Regions from separate parts of the Homo sapiens genome. Here region 2 is linked to region 1. The links are contacts of gene promoters, found by promoter capture Hi-C in blood cells and fetal thymus (Javierre and others, 2016). All regions are on one chromosome and are shown on one strand. The core of a region is centred on a gene start or on the middle of the fragment in contact, and the rest is flanking DNA. Distances in the headings are between cores, read along the strand shown. Region 1 holds the start of COPB1 (coat protein complex I subunit beta 1). Region 2 holds the start of BTBD10 (BTB domain containing 10).

Evidence for each region. The method cuts DNA at HindIII sites, captures the fragments that hold promoters and counts their contacts. A CHiCAGO score of 5 or more calls a contact.
Region 2: a contact is called between a fragment that was not itself captured here and the fragment with the promoter of COPB1 in region 1, in 1 of 17 cell types (fetal thymus). The highest score is 6.2, in fetal thymus.

What each region holds. Positions count from the first base shown.
Region 1 is chr11:14,497,982-14,503,988 of GRCh38, reverse strand. COPB1 (coat protein complex I subunit beta 1) reads left to right here and starts at 4,178. Exons shown (of 22, transcript NM_001144061.2): 1 at 4,178-4,282; 2 at 5,004-5,151. The coding sequence starts at 5,061. RefSeq lists an enhancer at 3,957-4,056. The HindIII fragment of the contact is 3,446 bases long and covers 3,335-6,007 here.
Region 2 is chr11:13,457,567-13,463,433 of GRCh38, reverse strand. BTBD10 (BTB domain containing 10) reads left to right here and starts at 212. Exons shown (of 9, transcript NM_032320.7): 1 at 212-342. RefSeq lists an enhancer at 1-32. The HindIII fragment of the contact is 860 bases long and covers 821-1,680 here.

The DNA.
Region 1 (6,007 bases), core at 2,929-5,428:
TAATCCCAGCACTTTGGGAGGCCGAGGCAGGCGGATCACGAGATCGGGAGATCGAGACCACGGTGAAACCCCGTCTCTACTGAAAATACAAAAAATTAGCCGGGCATGGTGGAGGGTGCCTGTAGTCCCAGCTACTCGGAGAGGCTGAGGCAGGAGAATGGCGTGAACGCGGGAGGCGGAGCTTGCAGTGAGCCAAGATCGCGCCACTGCACTCCAGCCTGGAGCGAGACTCTGTCTCAAAAAAAAAAAAAAAAAAAAAAGACAAAAACCATAATCCAAAATTTGGCTGCTGACATCTAGAGGAGTTATTTTATTTTCTGAGATAATACATCTTTCTGAAGAAAAATTCATTTATAGATAGTAACCCATTTTAGACCTAATTCTAATTAGCTGCTATTGGCTTTGGGCAAGTTACTTAGCTCTTTTTTAAGGAAACCCTTTGGAGAATTATAGTGAGGGTTAAAAGGGAGAATTTATGTGATAACACCTTTTAAACTCTAAAATTCATAGTTTATTTTTTCCCCCCAACTTTCCCAAATCTTCAAAAGCCTTAGTAGGTTTAAATCCCCCTGATTTCTTAGAGAATGGTAAAAGTAGCTCTGGGAGCCTTATTAAGGGAAAGATGTCTAAGTACTGGAATGTGAGAGATGTCAGTTTCTCCAGCAGTAGCCTCAGGAATCTACCATGCAAGCTTGGGAGTTAGACGCAAGTACCATGTGGCTATTTGACCTACAGTGGAGTTGCATCAAGCACATGTAACTTTCCACACACATACACACACACACACACACACACACACACACAAAATAGTGAACTCAGGAACTCCCACCTGCCTCTACACTCAATGGGTATTTAGTCTGGGGAGGGAGCATAAGTGGGAAATATAATAATCTGCCCTTTGCTTAGGCAGATCTCTCTTCCACATGCATTCCATTGGGTGAGCCTCTGTCTTTGCTGAATGATTCTGCTGTTTAAAGATATTGTGGCTCATACCTGTAATCCCAGCACTTTGGGAGGCCGAGGCGGGTGGATCACCTGAGGTCAAGAGTTCGAGACCAGCCTGGGCAACATGGCAAAATCCCGTCTCTACTAAAAATACAAAAATTAAATGGGCATGGTAGCACGCGCCTGTAGTCCCAGCTACTCGGGAGGCTGAGGCAGGAGAATCACTTGAACCTGGGAGGCAGAGGTTGCAGTGAGCCGAGATCATGCCACTGCACTCCAGCCTGGCCAGGTGACAGAGCGAGACTCTGTCTCAAAAAATAAAACCAAAGATATTGTTATGTTTATCATTGTGGAACATGCACCTGTTCCACAAATACAAACCACTAGTTGGCTTGTATTCAGCTAAAAAAATAAATATTCTGTATTATACTTTGGGAGCAATTTAAGTAATTTTTTCAATGTGATTTTTAGTCTTATATACTGACTTTAGAACTTAAAGTCCTCCCCACTCCAGTAATACTCAACCCCACTGTATATACAGTTCATTGTGATGCCCTTTCATGTTTAGTCTGTTGTACTCACATATTCCATTTAGTCTGTTGAATAATTACAAACAGTAAAATCCTAATGATGTTTTATAAAGCCTGTCACTTTGATACAAAGATACTCAATTCACCTGGAATTTATTGAGCATGTATGTGTGCAGCTCTGAAGAACTGGCATGGAATAAAAGGCAGTGGCTGGGTGTGTTGGCTCACGCCTGTAATCTCAACACTTTGAGAGGCCGAGGTGGGAGGATTGCTTGAGTTCAGTTCAAGACCAGCCTGGGCAATATAGTGAGACCCCATCTCTACAAAAATTTTTAAAACTTAGCCTGGTGTGGTGGCACACACCTGTGGTCCCAGCTACTCAGGAGGCTGAGGTGGGAGAATCACTTGAGTCCAGAGTCTGAGGCTGCAGTGAGCTATGATCATGCCGCTGTACTCCGGCCTGGGTGACAGAGTGAGACTCTTGTCTCAAAAAAATAAAAATAATAACGTAGATGACAGGATTCAGGTCCTAGTTCTAACTCAGTGTTTGGCCATTACATGATTTGGGGCAAGTCCCTATTCTCTAGGCCTTGACTTTTTAGATACCACAATTTCTATGGTCCTTGATAAAATGACAAGGTCTTTGCTCTGCATTTATAATTTAAAGGCATTCAAAATTATATAATTACATCTTAGAGTAAAACAGCCCAAACAAAGTGTATTTTACAACAGATCAGGAAGAGTTAATGAGGTTAATATTAAGGTCCTTATACCCATTCAAAAAGCTTTGTACTTAAGAATATGGAAAAATATATGCACTGCCAATGACAATTGTAGGTTCAGATCTAACTAAAGTAATATGTAAAACATTACATTTTCTTGCCTTTTCATATTTAGAACTTAATGACTTGGGGTCATGAGAAACCTCAAAGTTATTCTGTAACAGAATGAACCTCTGGGGCAAATGAAGTCTGTACGGTTTAAGTCCTACACCATGATGGCCCTAAACTGAGCTTTCTTACTGTAAATCTAGTTTTTATACCTTTTTTGGCCTCATTTCTTGCTGACAGATTGTCACTTTTTGGTAAGTTAAGTGGGCTTGGAAACCAGATAACTGCATTTGTAAAACTTCCATGTTAAAAACGAATACACAGAAAAGGAACAAACTGTTGTACACACACCCGGGATTGATCTCAGGGGAATTATGCTCAGTAAAAAAATCCAATCTCAAAAGATTACATTGTATAATTCCATTTATATAACATTGAGATGATAAAAATCATAGAGAATTATTAGTGGTTGCCACAGGTTAGTGTGGGAGGTGGCTATGGCTATCAAAGGACAGCATGAGAATCCTTGTGATAGAACTGTTCTGTCTCGACTGTGTTGGTGATTACACACATATAAGCATGATAAAATTGTCTACAAGTGAATATAAAAACGAGTACATGTAAAACTAGTGAAGTCTGAACAAGGCTGGGTGAATTATGTCTGTCAATTTCCTGAAATTGATATTGTACTATAACTATGCAAGATGTTACCATTGGGAGAAACTAGGTAAAGAGTATATGGGATCTCTGTATTCATGTCACTCTACCATTAAGATTAAATATTAAAAAAAATGAATGCACAGAATCAGAGAGGCACTCTTAAAGTGCTGTCAACACATGGCCTTTGAATACAATTTTGGGTGCTCAAAGAATTTGTAGATTGCTTGATGGTTCTAAAAAGAGAAAGCTCAAAAGAGCTAGATCCTACATAAATGAGGTACTATTGGTGTTCCATCTTCCTGAGATGAACCTGTTAACTAGGGCAGTTGCCGTCAGATCTGTTTTTATTCGCAGTATTTTGCTTAAGCTTTAAGATATTTTGTTATTAATAATTGGCCATAAAACCCTTTTGTGGGCAGAGGGAGGTGTAGGGGCGGGGCGTGCTATGGAACTTCAAATGGGCAAAACCGAAAGTACTATGGCTGATTGCAGCTGTAACAGGTCTTTGGAGATACGTAAAATCCTTTAAAACAGTGACTGTCTCCCTTTATGCATAAAAATTTTTTCTAATCTACTGGGTGCTCAGAAAGGATCACGGAAAGAGGCCATTATTAAATAAAAAGCAGAAATTATACCAATGTGACTTTGGATTTTCAAATAACTCCAGCCCTACCTGCAGAGAGGCAGATTCAAACTACTAGCGATGTTAAGAACTGAAATGGATTTTAATCTAGTGATAATTAATAAAATAACTGAATTACCTTCCCAATAGTATTAGTTACTTTCCCAGTTTATTAGGGTGTGGACAAGAAAAAGGATTACTGGGTTTCCACTTTCTAGTCCAGAGCTCTTTTTCACGGGAACAGAGCCCTGTAAAAGTTTCCCTCTCTCCAAGCACTTTCTCCCCTTGACTGTTCCTGAAGAAGGAACGATTTCCAGTTAGCGTTTAAATTAGCATAGTGCTTAACTCAGAGCTTGGCTTGCAGGGAAAACTAGAAAATACGTGGTTTCATTGCTCTGCGGCCTAATCAAACCCTGGACAAGAGAAGAGGAAGAAAATAGGATATACTTGCAGCGCGCAAGCGCTGCACAAAGAAAGCATGTCCTCTCTGAGTCGCCGTAGGTGCTAGGTGGCTGTGGCTTCGGTCGTTACCCCACCCCCTTCCACGTCAGCCAAGGACTCTGGAGCCGCCGCCGCCGCTGCTGCGGTTCATAGCCGGAGTAGACGGAGCCGCAGTAGACGGATCCGCGGCTGCACCAAACCACTGCCCCTCGGAGCCTGGTAGTGGGCCACAAGCCCCCAGTCCCAGAGGCGTGGTGGGTCGGGCAGAGTCGGAAGAACTGGCTTTCTAGCTGGAAGATGCGGAAGGGGAGCGACTAGGCCGCTTGCGTCTGGGCCTGGCAGAAGGGACCGGGTGGGGGTACGGGTGGGGGTGCGGGTCGGGGTGGGGGCGGAGGGCTAGGAAGCTCCGGGTCGGACGCTCCATCCCGTCCTTTGTATTGGCCGGGGGTCTTTTCCCTCCCAAGACCCCTAGGCGTACCCTTTCAGGCCTAGGGCTGCTTTGCTGGAGGAAGGGGAGGAGGAAGCGGGTGGGGCGAGGTGGGGGTGCAGCGCGTTGATTAAGGGACCCGCGGACATAGAGTCGGAACCCACCAAGGACCGCGATAAAGCGCTTTAGGGTTTTGGCAGAGTATTCAGGCACAAGGTCTCTTAACTTGAGCATGCAGATTGTGTGTTGTGTAAAAACCATACGGTCCATAACATTGTGGGGTGTGGCTGGGGGGACTGTCACTGTTCTGTGGGCCTTCATTCGGCTATACAGCATTCTCAAACACTGGACCGGGATGCGATGAGGGAGTGATAGATAATATACCTTATGCCAGAGCTGATAATGTGGTTTTTACTAGAATTTATTTTTATGGGAACACGATATAGATTGACCTGCCCTTTCTAATACTTTAAAAGGTCACTATAGGTACTTGTTTGTGGGTTTTTTTTTTTTAATTTGTAATGATATGTCTGTGTTTATTTTTCTAGATTTTCTGGCATCCTTAAATCTTGTGTCAAGGATTGGTTATAATATAACCAGAAACCATGACGGCGGCTGAGAACGTATGCTACACGTTAATTAACGTGCCAATGGATTCAGAACCACCATCTGAAATTAGCTTAAAAAATGATCTAGGTAAACTTCGATATTATTTTGAGAATGAAATGAAAAAAGAAAAAACAAAAATAAAAAACTCATATTTCATATTCCTTTATAATTAGAAATGCTTAATTTTTGTCTAAAGTTTTTCTAGGATCTCTTCGATAGACCTTTTATTAAAAATGCGAACTTCTTTAAATATTGGTTGTTTGAAATAGAACATCTCAGTTTATCTTAGTAAACCTAAAGAAATTGTAATAGTTTAGATATTCCTCAAAATGTCATAATTTTTGTAGACTTCAATATATTAATGTGGCTGATTATTTTCTCTAGGCAACAGGTTGAGGATGTGTATTGGAATATCTTAATTCCATCGTGCACTTAACTTCATGTTACTTAGCTTGTAAAACCAAAAGAACTTTGTTCTTTGGATTACCCACCCAAACAATTAGGTGAACACTGGAATAAACATGTATTTTCCAGAAAAGTTTACCTTTTCATTTTTTATGCATTTTTGCAAATAAGAAAACAACTATATTTCTGAACTTTTTGTAATGTTTAATTTTTGGGGGTACACAGTAGATGTATATATTTATGGGGTACATGAAATGCTTTGATACAGGCATGCAATACATAATTATCACATGGAAAAATGGAGTATCCATCCCTTCAAGCATTTGTCTTCTGTGTGACAATCCAGTTACACTTTCAGTTATTTTTAAATGTCCAATTAAATTATTATTGACTGTAGTTACCCTGTGTGCTATCAAATATCGGGTCTAACTCATTTTTTCTGTACCCATTAACCATCTCCACTTCCCTACCACTACCCTTCCCACCTCTGATAACCATCCTTTTACTCTGTCTCCGTGAGTTTGTTTTGATTTTTAGC
Region 2 (5,867 bases), core at 1-2,500, 1.0 Mb after region 1:
GGTCGCGCGGCGCCTTCCTCTCCACGCGCCTGAGATCCCACCCGTGGCCGCCGCGCCCTCAACTGCCTTCTCCTTCGGTGCCCCGCCCACCCCTGGGCGGAGAGCACCGTTCTCGCGAGAACGCTGCTGGCCTCGCCTCTTCGCATTGTGAGCTCTCGCGGTAAGAGGCTGAGGAGCCGGCCTGCAACCTGCCGGGGCGGCTCCGCTACGCGCAGCCGCCTCAGTGGCTTCCTCCACAGCCACCTCCGGAGGGATCTGGCTGAGGAGGAAGTGGAGGTGTCACTGGCCCCGGCCTTTGCCCCAATCTTGTGTGGGCACTGAAGGGGGACTACAGGTTCGAGAGTGAGTGGACTCAGCTGGGGAACTCGGCGGGGGCGGCGCGGGAGGCTGGGCTTGGCCGGGGCGAAAGAGGAAAGGGGCGGAGGGCGAATCTGGGCGTGAGAGCCAGGCTGCTGCGGCGGTGGTCTGGGCGGCCGGACCCTGCTCGGGTACCGTGGGTGGCGTTTTGGGCTCCGGCCACGAGCACCCAATTAGGAGAGGCCGGGATAAGACTTGAGTTTTGCGGCTGCTGCTTTTGGGTTGGGAGTCCGGGGGCCTTTCTCCGGGGATGAAGGCGATACCCTCATCCCTTTCCAGGGCAGAGGAACCCCGTGCCCCGCCCCTTTCCTGTCATCTCAGACGAACGCAGCGACATCCTGAGGAAGGCGCATCACAATAGGGGATAAGGTGGTGGGCAGCCTCCCTCTGGGTGAAGAGGAGTGAGACCCCACTAACGTGCTGCGTGGTTTTATGTTGTAACCATTTTACGTGTGGTAAAGCTTTGTTTTCTTAAAACTTGCACGGAAAAGGTTCTGATGTCTTTCTTCTTCAGATGCAGGTGCCCTGACACCCTTATCTTTGGGAATGGGGCGGGGGAAGGTGAGACATCGGTTAGTAATTTGTTAGTGTGGGCCAGTGTGACTGTCCCTGGGCCTCACAGATTTCCTGCTTCTCCTTTCTCAGTATTCTGAGTCCATGATGAAAAGTCACTAGTCCAGACATGCTGAAAGATAGAGCTTCACTTGCTTGTGGCTTTGTGCACTTAGTAAACAAGATTATTTTACGAAGATTTATTATCTTGCAGAGTTTTCATGCTTTTTATTTAAATTAGCAATCTAAATGAAACAGCACAGGATATTAATTGTATTTGGACAACTGAGTTCCTTCCCGCCCCTATCCTCCCAACCCCCCAACTACACAAATTTGATCAAAATCTTTTAGAGAGGGGGTTAGGGATAAATTTTCAATGAAAGAGACTGTGGAAATCGGAATAAGAGATATAATAAAGAATGCAGCCATAACGGCCAAAAGAGTTTCTGTATTAGAGAGCCTGTCCAGGATTGAAGTTCAGTCCTGAAACCCAGGACTGCAGTTGTCATTTGAATATAAAGCGGAAAGCAGTAGAAAATACTTGGGAAGGGATTTGAAAGTGGACCAAGACTGGTAAAAAAAAAAAAAAAAAAAGTGTGAGAAGAATTATTTCTGATGATGTAAATGTGTTTTATAAATTTTCCCAATATTTCTCAGCGTGTATGACCTAACAGCTATTATATTAATACATACAAAGTAGGAAGGAAGTTTCTGAAGCATGGAATGTGGTAAGGAACCACCAGAGAGTAACAGTGTTCAATCAGGAAAGCTTTTAGTGTTTCAACAATGTTTTTGTGTTCGTTCACCTTTTTTCTCACTCCCAGAAAAGCTTTCAGATAGACTTCTAACCCTATGTAATTATGTTACCCTTCCACCAGTCTGAATTTTCTTCTTTCTCACTCCCTCTAAGCCATGTGAATTTTTTAAATTATTAACTATGGAGTTGCAAACCACTGTGGTCTGCTTTTGGCTTTTTATAATAGGTGACTTAGGGAAGTATGGAAGTGATATGGAAAATATTGTGCACCTTTCAAAGCCATAGCATGAGCAACAAACTCACATGCCTTCGGGTACTAGTTAGATAATGAAAATGAGGGAAATGCACTATGCCTTATCAGAGAGACATCCAAGTCTCAGGTCCCCCTAATCAGTGCTATATAAGAATATGGACCCCATCTTCAGCATTCTCAAGAGAACTCGGAAATCTAGATTTTTGCATTCAGTGTCTTGCGTCTTAAAAATATTGACAACTAATTAAAACCATTAAAAATATCATGTGACTGAATCAAATCCAAACCTGTCCATAGTTGTATTCTCCTCTCCAGTTTAGAAGCTCTGTTATAAATCAAAATTAATAAATTTTATGACTGGAAAAAAAGGAGGTTTAAAGCAAGTTTGGAGTTTCAAACTTAAGGGGTCTTGGGAAAAATGTCACATCTAATTGAAAACAGTAGTTAAGTTTAATAGCCTTTAAGTATAGTTATAGTAGGGCAATTTGAACTGGTATTTACTATAAACGTTTTAACTGTGGAAATAACTGAAGAAAAAGCATCTCAGTATTTATGGTTTAAAAACTCAGAGTTCTGAGCAAAGCTGATTTATAGGTATCTTGTACAGAAATTGAATTATTTAGAAGCTCTTTATTGTATTTGCAGCTAATATATAAAATTAAATACAAGAGACCCTCTACAGTCCATTTCAGGATTTGAATGTTTATTGTTTGCTGTGCTATCCCACATTGTCTTCCTAGGCATTGACTTACTGGAAGAAATACTGATCCCTTGGATTTTATTCCATGCCAGATGGAGATTGGAGGGGTTTGGCAACAGGATGGAAAGAACTGGGTGGAGAAAGTGTGATGTGAAGCAAACACTCTTGTGCCCCTTCCTTACATTGTTCATTAAAAGATTGATTTGTGTTAGTTTTTCTTGTAAGAAGGATAGGTATATTAATTGATTAAACTTAGTGCCTTATACATAGTAGAGTTTAATGACGTGTGGAATTGACCTTTGTGGATTAAGCCTCATTTACCCATTAATGTGAAGTAATTTAATCACATAATCTGATTCATACCTAGTTGGGTTATGGGGAATGGGAGTGCTAGAGGTCAAAGCTAAGTAAGAGGTGTTTTTTAGGCATATAGAGGGCAAGTTGGGGGTCTTCACTTGGGATAAGGGTGAGAGAGGAAGTTAGGTAAGGGAGAGAATTTTGAAAAGGAAGATGAAATGATTAAGTACCCATTTGTGTATTGTGCAGTTTTAAAAAGAGGTCTGCCTTTTGTGGCTAAATTTATCATAACTTGTGCAGAGACTACATAGAATACTGGTTTTTAATCAGGACTGCTATGGGAATTTGCAGATTTTCTTTTCTTCATTTTAGCTCAGTCATCTCAGGCCAAGCTAGGCTAATATCTGTTCATTCAATCTCTGCCTCTCTCTGAAATAGGAAATGAAAGAAGAGGAGATATGTATTATGTTTGTGAGGTGCTCCTGTTGAAGAGTTATAAGACTACTTCTGAGGAATTTGTTTTATATTTGAGAAGATTGTGCTTGTTGAAGGGGGAACCATTATTTTCGTCTTTACTTGTTTCTACCATGACTCATAAAGTAGGAAGTTCTTTTTTGGAAATAGCTTTCCGCTTCTTCCCATCCCCTGAGTTGCCATCCCAAAGGAGGATCAGGGGAGGCTAAGGGAAGGGATTGAGTATACTTTTGTTCAGTGCCTTATGATTCAATTTTTGGGACTCTCAATTCTTAGGCTATACATTGTCTATTCATTTGTATGGTAGGCTTATCTGAGCAGGCTGGACTACTAATACTATGAGGGAGAAGGAAATGGAATGCCTACAGTTCTAACTGGGTAAGTTTAATTTGCAGTTGAAGTAATAAGGGTTTTTGCACGTTGGATTTAGTTATATTTTTACCATCATCTGTTTGGATCCTTTATTTTTTGTTGATTCTGAACCGAAAGTAAGGCGGGTCAGGAAGATACAGATGTTACCTTCTCCTGTTAATGGAGAAAGAACTATTAAAATTTTTCTCCCTTTTTAATAGATTCTTCATCAGGGTTCAAGCCAATGTTGCATTTCCCCTAGTGTATCTTGCTCGGGTTTACTTTGAGATCCTTGAAACTGAGACCTAGTTTGCTAAAGAATGTAGCAATCAGCCAGCCAGGCATGGTGGCTCACGCCTGTAATCCCAGCACTTTGGGAGGCCGAGGCGGGCGGATCACGAGGTCAGGAGATCGAGACCATCCCGGCTAAAACGGTGAAACCCCGTCTCTACTAAAAATACAAAAAAAATTAGCCGGGCGTAGTGGCGGGCGCCTGTAGTCCCAGCTACTTGGGAGGCTGAGGCAGGAGAATGGCGTGAACCCGGGAGGCGGAGCTTGCAGTGAGCCGAGATCCCGCCACTGCACTCCAGCCTGGGCGACAGAGCGAGACTCCGTCTCAAAAAAAAAAAAAAAATAAATAAATAAAAAAATAAATAAATAAATAAATTTTAATGCTCAGATACCTGACAGAGAATCTTAGGTACAAAATTGTACAAGCGTTGTTATGATTTTCTTGTTTTTGGGTGGCATACAAATAGTGCTGGATTGTTTCAAAGGTAATTACTTCATTCAGACAATTTATTTTATACAATGCAGGCTTGAATTTGATTTTTCTCACATCAAGAAAGCAAGCGATATGATCTGTTTCTTTCAGCTATTCATTTGTTCATTTAGAATTTTCTTAGAGAAGACCATAACCTCCTGTAAGATGGTTAACTGCGAGACATTCTTGTTTCTTACTTAGTTTTCCAAATTGTTGGAGTTTCTCTTTTAAAAGAGAATAATTATTAGAGAGACTGGTGGGATTATGAAACCATAATACTGAAAGTAACTTTAAAACCATTAATACTCCAATTTTTGGAAGAGAAAACTAAAGTGCAAATCAAGCCCCTTAACTGATTTTGATCAAAGATATTGGCAGGCAGTAAGACAGCTGAGACTAGAATACAAATCCACAAGTTTCCTGATTTGGAGTAGTTTGTTCCAGTGATTCCCCCTAGTGGGTTGCATGTGCTTTTGGGGATATATGAAAAACTTGTTCATTGTGCTGTATGAAGAAAACAATAGAACTTCTATTTATTTTTTACTGTATCCTTTTTAAATTTCCATTTCGTGTGTGTGTGTACTATATACATAATACTGGTGTGATAGTATATGTGCATTGTTTATAAATATACATATATACAGCTGTCCGTGTTACTTGAACTCAACATATTAAGAAAAGGAAAAACTGCCATATTTTAAAGTGGTATGGCATCTTTGATCATCTTTGCTTCCCTAGTGAATGATATTATTTAACAGTAGACTGGAACAGTTTTTTTTTTTTTTTTTTTTTTTGAGATGGAGTCTCATTATGTTGTCCAGGCTGACCTTGAACTTCTGGGCTCAAGTGATCCTCTCACCCCAGCCTCCCAAGTAGTTGGGATTATAGGCACATACCGCCACACTCAGCTTGAATGGCTGTTAATTTTGAAACTGTTTTATGATGAGTAGTTTGAAAAATTTCCTATAAAAATAGATTTATTTGGAGTAATTTCTTTCTGACTGTAAAAGTAATGGGTATTACATGCAACTGGGAACATTTAGCAAAGGGCAAAGAAGAAAATGGTACCATAATCCCATGACTCAGTGATAATTGCTTCCAGTCAGAAATATATGTGTGTACACAGATACATACATACACATATGAATATTACATACACCCCTTATTAATTTATTTGGAGTATGTAAGTCATTATGTGGTTCAAATATCTAAAGTATATCGAAAGAGAACTCAGAAGTCTTGATTACATCCCTATTACCTTCACCCCAGTCCTACTCTGCCCATATAGGTAACCATTTTGATTAATGTCTTTTTTATACTTTGAGTTGTTTTCTTTACAAAAATAAATACATGTGTATTTGTC